2 separate regions of the Homo sapiens genome follow, and region 2 is linked to region 1. The links are contacts of gene promoters, found by promoter capture Hi-C in blood cells and fetal thymus (Javierre and others, 2016). All regions are on one chromosome and are shown on one strand. The core of a region is centred on a gene start or on the middle of the fragment in contact, and the rest is flanking DNA. Distances in the headings are between cores, read along the strand shown. Region 1 holds the start of UST-AS2 (UST antisense RNA 2). Region 2 has its middle 58 kb from the start of UST-AS2.

Evidence for each region. Contacts are between HindIII fragments. The CHiCAGO score rates a contact against its expected background, and 5 or more counts as called.
Region 2: a contact is called between a fragment that was not itself captured here and the fragment with the promoter of UST-AS2 in region 1, in 1 of 17 cell types (megakaryocytes). The highest score is 5.9, in megakaryocytes.

Annotation. Positions count from the first base shown.
Region 1 is chr6:149,029,275-149,035,869 of GRCh38, forward strand. UST-AS2 (UST antisense RNA 2) reads right to left here and starts at 3,387. Exons shown (of 2, transcript NR_134599.1): 1 at 3,251-3,387. All of the region lies in intron 7 of UST (uronyl 2-sulfotransferase), which reads left to right. RefSeq lists an enhancer at 3,791-3,980. The HindIII fragment of the contact is 1,599 bases long and covers 2,182-3,780 here.
Region 2 is chr6:149,087,567-149,094,169 of GRCh38, forward strand. No RefSeq gene overlaps it. Among named protein-coding and RNA genes, the nearest start is that of UST-AS2, 58 kb to the left of the region's middle. The HindIII fragment of the contact is 154 bases long and covers 2,308-2,461 here.

The DNA.
Region 1 (6,595 bases), core at 2,137-4,636:
AAGTATATACATGTATATCTAAATTATATATAAAGTATATGTAATATATAATGTATATATTGTACGTTATATATTATATATAAATTATATGTAATATATAATGTATATATTGTATGTTATATATTATATATAAAATATATACATTATATTGTATACATTATATTATATTATATTATATATACATTATATATTATATATATAATGTATATATAATATATAATGTATATATTATATAGATACACCACTAACTCTGGCTTTAGTTTTAAAAACTAACATTTTAGAAAGCCTGAATTAAACAAATTCTCTCTTTCATTTTTAATTTCCATTTTTATTTTCCACTTCTATTGCTTCTGTGCTGCAGCAAAACTCAAAAATATTCTGGAAACTCCCAAGTATACAATGATGGTTAGGAGGAATTCAGATTAGCTATTTTTAGAAGGCAATTAAGTTGTTTTTAAAAACTCAGTTTTCATTGATGAAAACAGGACTCCAATTTGCTATTGGTTCATTTACCATCGATATTCTCTATAAAGATTTTTTTTTCACCAGCCATGTCCCAGGCTCAGATCCTAATAATGTCAGCACTGGATCTTGTGTGTGTGTGTGTGTGTGTGTGTGTGTGTGTGTGTGTGTGTGGTGTGTGCACCTACCCATGTTCAAACAACTAGACTCCTTATTATATAGCACTCATACATGATGCAATCATCTTAAGATCACAAAATCAGTAAGTTTCTAAGTCATAATTACTTGTATAACAATATGCAGTTATAAAACACTTTCATATAGATGATCTCATTTGATTCTTACACAAATCCCCTGAAGTTGAGGAAGACAATTTTTTTTTCTCATTTTCTAAACAAGGAAACCAAGGCTCAAAGAGGCTGAACAACTTGCTCACAGTCTCGCCAAGTCCTAAGGGACAGCACTGACATTCACGCTTCTGTCCCCAGGCCCATCACAAAACATAAATCTGTGATTCCTCTAAAACTCTTCTTTATATTTAATCATTAATTCAGAAGTTAGTGAGTACTAAGCATTCATAGTATGTATTGCCATTAAAGGCAAGAGCTTAAAAATAAAATCTAGGCTGGGCACTGTGGCTTATACCTGTAACCCCAGCACCTTGGGAGGCCAAGGCAGGAGGATCACTTGAGCCTAGGAATTCAAGACCAGCCTGAGCAACAGCAAGATCCTGTTTCTACCAAAAAAAAAAAATTAAAATTAAATATATAGTTTATCTCTGTCCAACGTATCTGTCTGTTCACTAAGAAACATGAGTTTAGGAATCATCATAGATGATTGTTTTTAAAAACTCAATTATCATTGATGAAAACAGGACTTCAATTTGCTATTGGTTCATTTACCATCGATATTCTCTATAAAGATTTTTTTTTTCAGCAGCCATGTCCCAGGCTCAGATCCTAATAATGTCAGCACTGGATCTTGTGTGTGTGTTACCTTAACACACACACAAGATGTGTTATCTTAAGCCAGTGTGTTATCTTAAGCCAGTACGAGGCAATACACACAGAAAAAAATAATTTTGAGAATAGATCTGTTTGACAACACCTGACGTCTTTCCAGTGGGGGTTGCGGGGACGTAGGGAATAGCAGTGCAAGGTCTTTAAGATAGTGTCTAAAAATCTAAGCTGGGCTGGGCATGCTGGCTCATGCCTGTAATCTCAACATTTTGTTAAGCCAAGGCAGGTGGATCACAAGGTCAGGAGTTCGAGACCAGCCTGGCCAACATGGTGAAACCCCATCTCTACTAAAAATACAAAAATTAGCCAGGCATGGCAACACATGCCTGTAATCCCAGCTACTCAGGAGGCTGAGGCAGGAGAATTGCCTGAACCCGGAAGGTGGAGGTTGCAGTGAGCTGAGATCGAGCCATTGCACTCTAGCCTGGGCCACAGAGCAAGACTCATCTCAAAAAAAAAAAAAAAAAAGTCTAAGCTGAAGGCATATAACTGGTTCAGCTGTAGCTACTGGGCAAATAGTTCATTAAAAATGAACACATAATGTAAACCCCTTTAACTTCTAAACACTTGTGATTTTTTTTAGTGAACATTTTTCTGAGGGGAACTGTATAACCACAGGCTGATAACATCATTCAGTTTACAGAAACATCACCAATTCACAAGAATTCAGCCTCTAGGCTTGTTTAATTTACTTTATGAAAGCTTAAATTGCAGCATAATATATGTGCGTTTGGCCTATTTCAACTATTACTCTTTGTTTTATTGGAAAACATGTTTTACTCTTGCTTACTGATTTGTTCTTGCGTTGGGATCATCTCTCCTCCAGGAGAAAGCATTTCCAATTTTATTATGAAAGATTAACAGGAAAATAGAACTTCCTTCACAGACATTGATGTTCTAGGAATAACTTTACAAAAATATTTCTCTTCTCTGAAAACTAATATTTAAATAGGTGTAATCTGAAACTACCAGAAAAATTCAACAAACACCTCCAGCAAATAAATAGCTGAGTGTCTGTGATGTCCCTTTCCTGGGGAAGGGCAGTATAAAGATGAAAATCTTGTCTAGCTGGAAGGCCGTCACTAACAGGGCTGGGGCGCATAACCCTGTGGAGACATTTGTGCCCGGCCTTAAAGGGTGCGTAGGAGTTTGCCAAGTGGACGTGGAAGGAGGCATTTTAATAAGAGGAAAATAACATGATTGGAAGCGTGGAGGTGAGAAAGCATAGAAGCACTCAGAGTGAGGAGAGCTGGGGCTTGGGCCAGCCCACGTCAGCCCCTGCCTGCGGACCCAGCCTCTTGGAGCCAGGCTCACTCACCCTGCCTTTAAGACGGCCCTACCAGAGGCAGGAGAAGGATCCGCAGCCTCAGCTTTCTGTGGCGCAACCTGGCACTGAGTCACTCATACCAATCTCAGCGCCAGTGGCCAAGCCGCTGCTGCCGGAGGGCCTGTGTCACCCTCCCCCCGTTTCCCTGCCCTCTTCCCATCCTACCACCACCCAAGCTCCCTGGCTTCCTAACAGTGTGGCAGGGATCCTCCCAGGCCCCCATCCTCCTCCAGCCTGAGTTCTTCCTCCCTGCTGTCTTCCCAGTCTTCCCCACTAAGATCCCACCACCCTTCAGACCCGGGCTCACACCAGCTCCTGCTGGCCCCATGTGCCTCGCACCGAATACAGGAGGTCGCACACTGCATCCCCAGACACCAAGTACTGCCCTGCTTGACCACCTATGTTCCCCTGGGCCCACCAGCATGGACTCTCCTTCTGTTACCAGTCACTGCCTGATCCAGGCATGAGCTGCCTGTGTCCCCCGACATCATCCTCCTGGCACCATCCTCTGCTCTTCCTGGCCTTCTTCACTGGGAGCCTTCGGGATCATCCCTCCAGATCAAGTTCTTCCAGCCCCACCTCCCTCCCACCCTGTGCACCCAGGGAAATTCATCTCTTCTGGGTCCCAACCTTGGCCTCGGGAGAGCCCCAGATGCCCCCCTCTGTGTCTACCCCAGTTACTCAGTGTGGTCAGACTTGGGGGTTGTACAGTTTTCTGTCTCATGATTCATTTCCCCAGGCAAAAAGCTGGCTAATAATATCTGGGTGTGCGGGGGAGGTACCAGTGTGTTTCTGTGTTTGGAGGTGAATTTTTTTCTACTTTAGAATTTAATCACTTCTACTTTGAGCAGTTTTTAGCTGAGCTGACAGTAATATGCTCTGCATTGAGTATTTGTAGGGGGTGGAATTAGTCACCACAAATTTCAATTTTTGGACTTTCCTGATAACGCCACAAAGCTGAAAGGCTTCTAAAGCTTGAGCAAAGATTGGAAACTTGACCCCAGGGGTTGATGGTTGATCTTTATAAAAACGACCTTGTGGTCAGTTTGTTCTTTTATGCTTAAATTGTCAAGGTCCCTGTCCACCCCAGGAATTAATGTGGTGATGTGGAAAGAGCACTAGACAAAGGATTTCAAAACTGTCTTTGGGCCCTTGGCTCGTGGCCTTAGCTCTCTGACATTCTTTGCTTATAAAATGTACCCCCTGCCGGGGCGAAGTACAATCCTTACCCATTTTGCATGACTCAACATTTTATAATGGAAGCTTCTATTTTTGTCTGGCTAAATCTTTTTCAAATAAAAATATTTCTTGGTCTGTATATTTTTCATGTCTCAGACATTTTTATCAATACATAATGTCCTAGCTTTTCACATCTTGCAAATGGCACAGAATTGTGAAAGAATACAGCAAAAAGCTAGAAATATACCTGTGTATATAACATTGCTGGGGATTTTTATGTGTGGTTTCTTGTGGGTTCTAGTAAGCACGTTCATTTCATTACCTACAAACGCATAGAAAAATCCAACATAATCCCACACTGATGAGAAGAAGAGAGGGTTGTTTGTCAGGTGGGGTAGTTTCACTTGACTTGAAGGTCTCACCCCGCCCCTCGTCTTTACCATAGCATACGCTTCTAGATGCTTCTGCTGCATTGTCAACCAGACTCTACCAGAACTGTTTTTCAAAACATGTGTTCCTAGGATTTTACCTCCCTGCATTTTTTGCTATATCTATTAAGTAATGCATGTATATAATTAAAAATCAAATAGTCCTATAAGATGTATAATGAAAACCAGCAGTTTCCTATTCCAACCCTCCCAAAGATGAAGTCTGATGTTGCAGAGCCAATCACTTTCAGCGCAGCTAGATGTTTCTTCGGATAATCACCGCGCTATCTGTAACTAGTATGCACAGGCTGCTGTTTCTTGATTTACTGGGGTCATGATCTCATTCTCTTATTCCATTACCTTTACTTCTACTTCCTTGCTCCTCTCCATCTTCCTAAGATGGTCATACCCACATTTGAGATGCATGGTCCTGCTGACGTTGCTGTGACTATATACATTTTGTTGGCTGCTGATCAGAGTAGTACATCATGATTTTGTTTCATTTCTTGCACAACTTAATTGTTTTTCCTGGAATTATTTATTGCCTTCATTTATTTGCCTAGATTTATTTGTACCTATCAAAAATTTCGTATGTGCCAAAATTTTCGTATGTGCCATTAGATCTGCCGCATTCAGTATTACTTTTGGTATTATTTAAATATTAATTACCAGATAAGTATGTCAGTTCCATCCCAACCTGCCCTCCCTTCCCGCAGAGGCCCTCTCCTCTTTCCACCCAGAGCTCTTTAAGCTCCATCGCAGCCTGCCCTCCCTTCCCCCAGAGGCCCTCTCCTCTTTCCACCCAGAGCTCTTTAAGCTCTATCCCAGCCTGCCCTCCCTTCCCCCAGAGGCCCTCTCCTCTTTCCACCAAGAAAGCTCCTGCTCCTAGTATATCTGGGTTCATTACTCTAAACACAGCTTTACTGCAGCTTCCCTTTACTATGTTTCTCAGTTGGGTCCAGTTTTCTTAATCTCGGGGATGCTATTTCTTGATTTAATAACTCATTTTACTTCAAGATGTTCCTAAGTTGCCTCCTCATGAAAGGTGCATGGGAGGGAAATTTTTTTTGAGTCATTGAAGGTCTGAAAAGCTCAGTATTCTACTCTAACTTGATGGCTAGTTTGGTTCTCATATTCATGCTCATTCTCTCTCTCTCTCTCTCTCTCTCTCTCTCTCTCTCTCTCTCTCTCTCTCTCTCTCTCTCTCCTTGGATTGTCTCTTTATTCCTTTTATGAAATTTTACAATATGACTCGGTATGTGTGCTAAATATTTAGTGGATACTTTCAGGCTTAAAACTCCTGTCTTCTATTTCTGGGAATTCTTAACATTTTGTTTCTTTGATGATTTTACCACCATGTTCTGCTTCTTTTCTGGAATGCTTTTAGTGGTCAGATACTTGAACCTCTAGATTCATCCTTTCTATGCGCTTCGCTGTTTTTTCCTCCCTCAATTGCCATCTTTTGAACATTTTTTCTCTGGAAGAGTTCCTCAATTTGTATTCCAGCCACTCTGTTGAATCTTCTCTTTTTCAGCCTTTCTTTCTTCTTTTTATATAACATCTTGTTCTTGTTAGTGAATGGATGCAATATTACCTTAAAAGTCTAAAAATTATAGACATTGGTTTAAGCGTTTTCATTTATTCCCCGCTTTATCTCTATTTGCTCCAGATTCCTTTGTACTGTTTTGGTTGGTTTGGGCTCTCTTTTTCAGTCTGAAGGCTTTCCTCTGGTGACACTTGTCTGTCTTTCGTTTTAAGAGTGAGGCACTAAAGAGCTAATTGCAGCCGGACATGGTGGCTCACACCTGGAATCCCAGCACTTTGGGAAGCCAAGGTGGGTGGATCTCTTGAGCTCAGGAGTTCAAGACCAGCCTGGACAACATGGTGAAACCTGTCTCTACAAAAAAAAAATACAAAAATTAGCTGGGTGTGGGGGTGTACAGTCATAGTCCCAGCTATTTGAGAGGCTGAGGTGGGAGGATCGCTTGAGCCCCAGAGGCAGAGGTTGCAGGGTTGCTGTGAGCCAAGATTGTGCCACTGCGCTTCAGCCTGGGTGACAGAGTAAGACCCCATCTTTAAAAAAAAAAAGCGAAGAAAAGCTAATTGTAAGTGCTGTGCAATGAAGGAGGCTCATTGACCAGTGGACCTCGCTTGAGGATAATCAAATAGCAATAGAGGTT
Region 2 (6,603 bases), core at 1,135-3,634, 57 kb after region 1:
ATAAAACTCTACATACCACCATTCACTTAATATGTAAAAAGAATACTCAATAACATTTTATACTTATAAATCTCTATATCAGGGAAGCTGTGACATCAGAATATCTGTGAACTTCTTGAATTTGTGTAGAGAATCATAAAGGTATAAGCATATTGGTATGTACTTCTTTTGGGAAGGGGGTCCATATTTTCATCAGATTCTCAAAATGGTCTGTTACCAAAGAAAAAGGTTAAACACTACAGCATTTAAGTTTTCAAAGCACTTTCACATAAATTACAATACATTCACAGCTGCTACATATTTAATATTTTACTTTTAACTGATCTCAGGTGACATTTAAAGGTTCATTGACACAAGGCAAACCGTACCTTGCAAATACATGCACTTGAACCACAAATGCTCAAGCCAGACCCTTAGCTTGTGGGTGAGCCGTCCCGTTCCCCAGCCTCCCATCACAGGAAAGCTCCCTTAACCTCACATCATGCCTCACTCTTGTGAAATGGTTAAAACAGCTTACAAAGGCGTGGATAGAGCTGACCCAACCAGTTTAGCCCAGAGCTGTTCCACTGCCTCAATCACTAGGGCTCCTGGACAGAGCTTGATTTTAGGGCAAGACTATTCAGATCATTTAAACCCAAAATTGGATCTCTCAGGCAAATTATTGATTCACCTATATAAATTAAACTAAGTCAGCTATTATTCGAGTCTCGCTTCCATAATGAATTGTACACAACTTCAGTGGACTCCACCCTTCAGAGCCCTCCTTGAGTCTGTTCTGGTTACATTTATTTAACGGTGACAAAGTTTCCTTTCCACTTTGTGCAGCATAGCTCTCTTCTCTCCACTTCACAGAAGTCACGTTCTCTGTCCCTCGGCACACGCTTGTATCTTAATCTTTATTTTTCCAACTCAGTTGTGGAATTCCACCAGGAAAACCCTTTCTTGCTCAAGAAGAACTGCGGGTACAATTTCAGCTCACCTTGGGTCTGTGTTGCCCCAGGGAGCCCAGGCTGAGGGTGAACAAGCTGCAGCTGCCACTTGAACAGCGCTTTCTCAGGTCTTGAGCCGCTTTGCGTCATCTCTGTTGCTTCAGTGCCTCCAGAAGCCCCTTGGTGCTCCCCCCAAGGGTAGCGCTCACCACGCTACATTGTAAATGCTCATTTAACCATTGTCTCACCCCCCAGACCACACCCTCTGTGAGGGCAACACCTTGTCTTGTTCACTGCAGTGTCCACGGCACTTAAATGCAGCACTCAGAATGAAGGAGTGAACAAATGAGCCAATGGGTGAGTGGCTGAATGAATGCAGTGAACTAATTCTTTTTCACTGAGCAAAGGAAGGCGGAGAACTTGGAGTGAGAAACAGGAGGGCAGAGTAAACAGGAGAGATAGAGAAAGAAAGTGACAGAGACTTGCCACCTCTGGGAAACCAACACTAGTGGCCCAACATGACCAGAATCCCCCTGGTCAGCTTCTAAGGAACGCTCTATGGGTGTTTTATGTAAACATTTCACATGGCTCACGCCTGTAATCCCAGCACTTTGGGAGACCAAGGCGAGAGGATCACCTGAGGTCAAGAGTTCGAGACCAGCCTGGCCAACGTGGTGAAACCTCATCTCTACTAAAAAATACAAAAATAATTAGCTGAGTGTGGTGGTGTGCCCCTGTAGTCCCAGCTACTCTGGGAGGCTGAGGCAGGAGAATCACTTAACCCAGTAGGCGGAGGTTGCAGTGAGCCGAGATCGCGCCATTGCACTCCAGCCTGGGCGACAGAGGGCGACTCCGTCTCAAAAAAACATTTAAAAAATCTAAAAAATAATAATAAGTGAAGAGGGAAAATCATTCAATATAAGAATCCCCCTCTAAAGGAGCCAAGCAGGTAGGTCTAATAATTCAGACTGTTCCTCTGCTCCATGGTGTGTGGAATGATTTACTGCATCCATAAAGGAAATTGCAGGACTTAGAGCTGAGAGACACTCCGGAGGCCCTGAAACTGGTATGGCGCAGACACAGAGCTGTGTCTGAAGATGTGGCTCCCGGGACTGGAGGGTCTGCAGCTGCCCTGAGCCCACAGGTGACGGTGTTCAAAAGAGGAGCGGCATCAGCAGTGGCTCTGTCCCACGGCTGATTAACGCAACGGAATGTACAGTCAGCAAGGGGGTGCTGCCTGTCAGGCTGTGGACTTACTGTCTGTCCCAGACTGGCTTTGTTCAAGTTTAAGGGCATTGTAATATTTAATATGGCCTGTAGCAATTTCATACCATTTGTAAAAATCATGAGACTATTTAATATAGAAAAAATATGTTCAAGCTTCCACCTAGAAAAATAACTGTGTATAGAACAGAATAAAAATGAGTTCAGAAGAATATTAGCTGATTAACACATTCTATTGAGTTAAGAAACTAGAACCCAGATATACGGGCACAACCAGGAAGGAAAGTGGGAATCTTAAAGGAAGAAGAAGCTTCAGATTAGAGAAGAGATGACCTTTGACTAAGAAGTCCCTAGTAGTCGTACTTAAAGCTTATCACCAAACTCGAACCAATTGTACAGTGTCAGTTAGTAAATCCTAAATCGAATGATCAGCATGTTACCTAGGACACGGCTGCGGCCCTGCGTTCCAGTCGCTATGCTATTCTTTCGCTGTGATGAGTTACTCTGTGTAAAGCAGGGGTCCCAGACTTTTGATTTATGAACCAAGAAAAAAAAATTAATAGAAACATGGAACCAAAATAGGACTGTCAGCTTCCTTTCCCCATTGGTCAAGTAAAAATATGAAGCAAAAAAAGGAAGAGGAGAGAAGGGAATTACTATCTACCGTCACCATGATTTGGGGCAAAGAATAGACATTTTCACATTAAAAAACTAAGACCATAATCTCCAAATTTAAAAAGATGTGATTTTGTATTTAAGAAAACAGTCATTCATTGTTCTTTTCTCACAGGCAGGCTTTGGGGAACCAGGGGATGGAAGAGTGGAGAAGAATACGGGCTTTGTAGTAACACAGTTCAAATATCAATCCTGCCACCTATTAACGAGGGCAGGTAACTTCAGGTTCCTGAGACCTAGGATCTGTCTTCTGTGAAAGAGGCATATGTACTTCACAGGTAATTGTGAGAAGGAACTGAGACAGATACATTAAGGCATAATAAATGCTAGCACTTTCTTCTGGTGAGGATTTTTGGCCGTCAAGACTAGATGTGTGGTGTTTGGAGACATGGGGAGAGAGAAGGCCTCACTCTCAGTACCCTGCTCCCCAGTGTGAAGGCTCACCTCTTTTGAATCACAAACTCTGCTCAGGCCTGGGTTTTGTGGAGTCTTGTCCTCTTCCTCCCTGTTAGAGAGTCTAATTTAAACCTGATCTCACCTGGCTAAAGAAGATACCTGAAGAGGAGAGTTAAGGGGGAGAGGGGCCCTCTGCATCCTCCCATCCTCAGTTCTCCTTGGCCTGGCCAGGAACTGCTAGGACACCCATCATTTTGATTTAGAATAAAACTGATTTGCCTGTCGGCTATCAAGACAGATGGAGTAAGGTTTGCCAAAAAACAGAGAATTTGGCCGTGGCTATTTCTTATATAGACCTTTCCAGCTGCAAGATTGATATCAGAGTGTAACATGCGGCTGCAAATGTAAAGAGAGTTAGGTTTGATCACAGCCCTCCCTGTTTCCCTCCTGCAGGCAAATGACAGGCAGGTTTTTAAGGAAAAAGCTAAGGCTCTGGGTTTGAGAGTCGGACATTAAGTTAGGGACAAAATGATTTAACCTCCTCCTTGGGATATGCTGAGATACTATTCCAAATATTAATTTGCTCAGAATTCAAATTGAACTCTGCAGCTACCTCATCTGAGAGGAAAATAGAGCTCTGAGAACAAAGGCTTTTCCCAGCATCTCCTTAGGAAAACCCCCTGGACTGTCTGTCAGGAGACCCGGGCTCGAAACCATGGCTTTATTGTTCATCTTTTATGCCTCAGTTTCCCAATAGGAATATATGACTAATACTAGTGTTTTCTTTTGACAAGACTATGGTAAAGAAAGACCAAAGAAAACTATACATTTGAGAAAGTTCATAGCACTAATACAATAAGCTGTAATTTTGATTATGGTCATGTTTATGGAATTTTCAGCTTCATTCTTTCTTTTAAGGCTTAAAGTTTAAAATAAAAACACTTTAAATAAAATTTCAGGTGCAACGGCTCACATCAGTGGTCCCAGCTACTTGGGAGGCTGAGGTGGGAGGAGAGCTTGAGCCCAGGAGTTCAGGACCACCCTGAGCAACATAGAGAGACCCCATCTCAAAAAAAATAGTAAAATAAAATAAAATAAATATTGTTCAGGCCTTCAAGACCTCACTGAGAACTTAGCTTTCAGCCATGGCTTACTCAGAAGCCATCAAGGGGCTCTGGCCCCTTGGAGAGCCAGGCCACATGGGCTTCTGCCCCACCACGAATTCCAGTTCCGTAGCCTGAGGAACCTCAAGATGCATCTTAGGGTTCTTGTGTTTTCTAGAGAGCTTTATCTTTTTGTGGCCTCTACGCCCTTTGGTTCCTGCTTCTTTGGATTCAAGGTTTGGGGGAGGGCAAGTAGGGAATAGAGAATAAACAAAGACAGGCAATGCATGTTCGCTCACGCCTGTAATCTCAGCACATTGGGAGGCCAAGGCAGGCAGATCATTTGAGGTCAGGAGTTCAAGATCAGCCTGGCCAACATGGCAAAACCCCATCTCTACTAAATATACAAAAGTTAGCCAGGTGTGGTAGCGGGTGCCTGTAATCCCAGCTACTCGGGAGGCTGAGGCAGGGAGAATTGCTTGAACCTGCGAGGCGGAGGTTGCAGTGAGCCGAGATCATGCCACTGCACTCTAGCCTGGGCAACAGAGGAAGACTGTCTCAAAAAAAAGATAATAAACAAAGACAGGCTTTACAGCACATAAAACAAGCCTTCACTTGGATGGTTGGCCCCTCACCTGCCTGGCCCTTTTTCTCTTTCCTTTCTTCTCACCCTCTTCATTCATCTGCCCTCTTCTTCAGGTGTGAAACCCTCCAGTTCCCCAATGTATACTGAAGAGCATGTTTCCTTTCCTGATATCTTGCTGCTGGCTGGCATCCAAAGGTGTTGCCCATCCAAGCAGGTTTTTAAAGGAATTTTTTCAGACAAAGGAAGATCCTTCCTCAGGAGGAGTTTAGATGCCAGCTGTTAAGAGCCGTTGGGTAAAACAGTGCTGTCACCAACTGCTATGTGAATAAACCAATGCTTCTCAAAATGTGGTCCTCACACCCCAACACCAGCAGCCTCAGCATCACCTGGCCACTTACTAAAAATACAGATTTGGGCCAGGTGCAGTGGCTCACACCTGTAATCCCAGCACTTTGGGAGGCTGAGGTGGGAGGATCATGAGGCCTGGCCAATGTGGTGAAACCCCTTCTCTATTAAAAATACAAAAAATTAGCCAGGCGTGGTGGCAGGCACCTGTAATCCCAGCTACTCAGGAGTCTGAGGCAGGAGAATTGCTTAAACCCAGGAAAAGGAGGTTGCAGTGAGCCGAGACTGCACCACTGCACTCCAGCCTGGGCAACAGAGCGAGACTCCATCAAAAAAAAAAAAAAAAACAATTGGGGGACCATCAGACACTCTTGGAAGTGCAGCCCAGCAATCTGTTTTTAACAGAAGCCTCCAGGAGATTCTGATACTGGCTGAAGTGTGAGAACCACTGACCTGTCAAAGGACCAGCAGCATGTCCACCTTCCACCAGCATAGTGCCTGTGGATAGCAAAGGTTCAATAAATACTTGTTAAATAAACGAACAGGCAAACTACTGATGCCATGTGAAGAGGAAGAGGAAACAATATAAAACACAATTTCTGCTCCTGGGACTTGAAATAAGCCCAGTGAGAAAGCAATGCACAGATTTGAAGTCTTTACAGCAACAAGTCAACTTACAGATACTGAGCCTGTGTTTCTAATGATGCAGAGGAGGATACCGAGACAGTACAACTGTAATGGTGCTCAGGAGCAGAGCTGCCCTGGACACGGCTGTCAGCCCCCCAATCCCCCATCCTGTGCCCCGGGAATTCTCAGTTCCACACTCCCTCTTGAATGGTTCATGTCAGAGGATAATGAACTGCTGAATTTTATGGTTCAGACCCGAATCTGCAAGGCTCACAGGGAGAATGCAGTGTGGGCTGCAGGAGTTGTGGAACTCATGCTGAGGTTTTTTTTTGTTTGTTTTTTTTTTCAGAACAAGAAAGATCTGGATGAGCAGAGATTTATGGAATTTACTTTTCCAGTTTTGGTAGCATTCCAAAGCCTGGGGAGGAAACGTGCAGCAAGCTTTTCTTCACTGGGACTAGATTGTATTTGCCCAAAGAAGGAAGACAGATCCAATAAACCAGGCCAAGATACCTGCAGATACCCCAGGCCTAGCGTGAAACTGTGGCTGGGCTCTTGTGCTACTGCCCCTCTGCAGTAGCTCTGAAATGTGCCAGGTCTCCTCCAACCTTGATAGGAGGTTAGCCTTTCCCATCACCTTGATGCTGCTCCTGGCTTTCTCATTTCTCTCTTCTTGGGCATGACTGCCTCTCTTCCTTTGTCCATGCATTCATGGTAT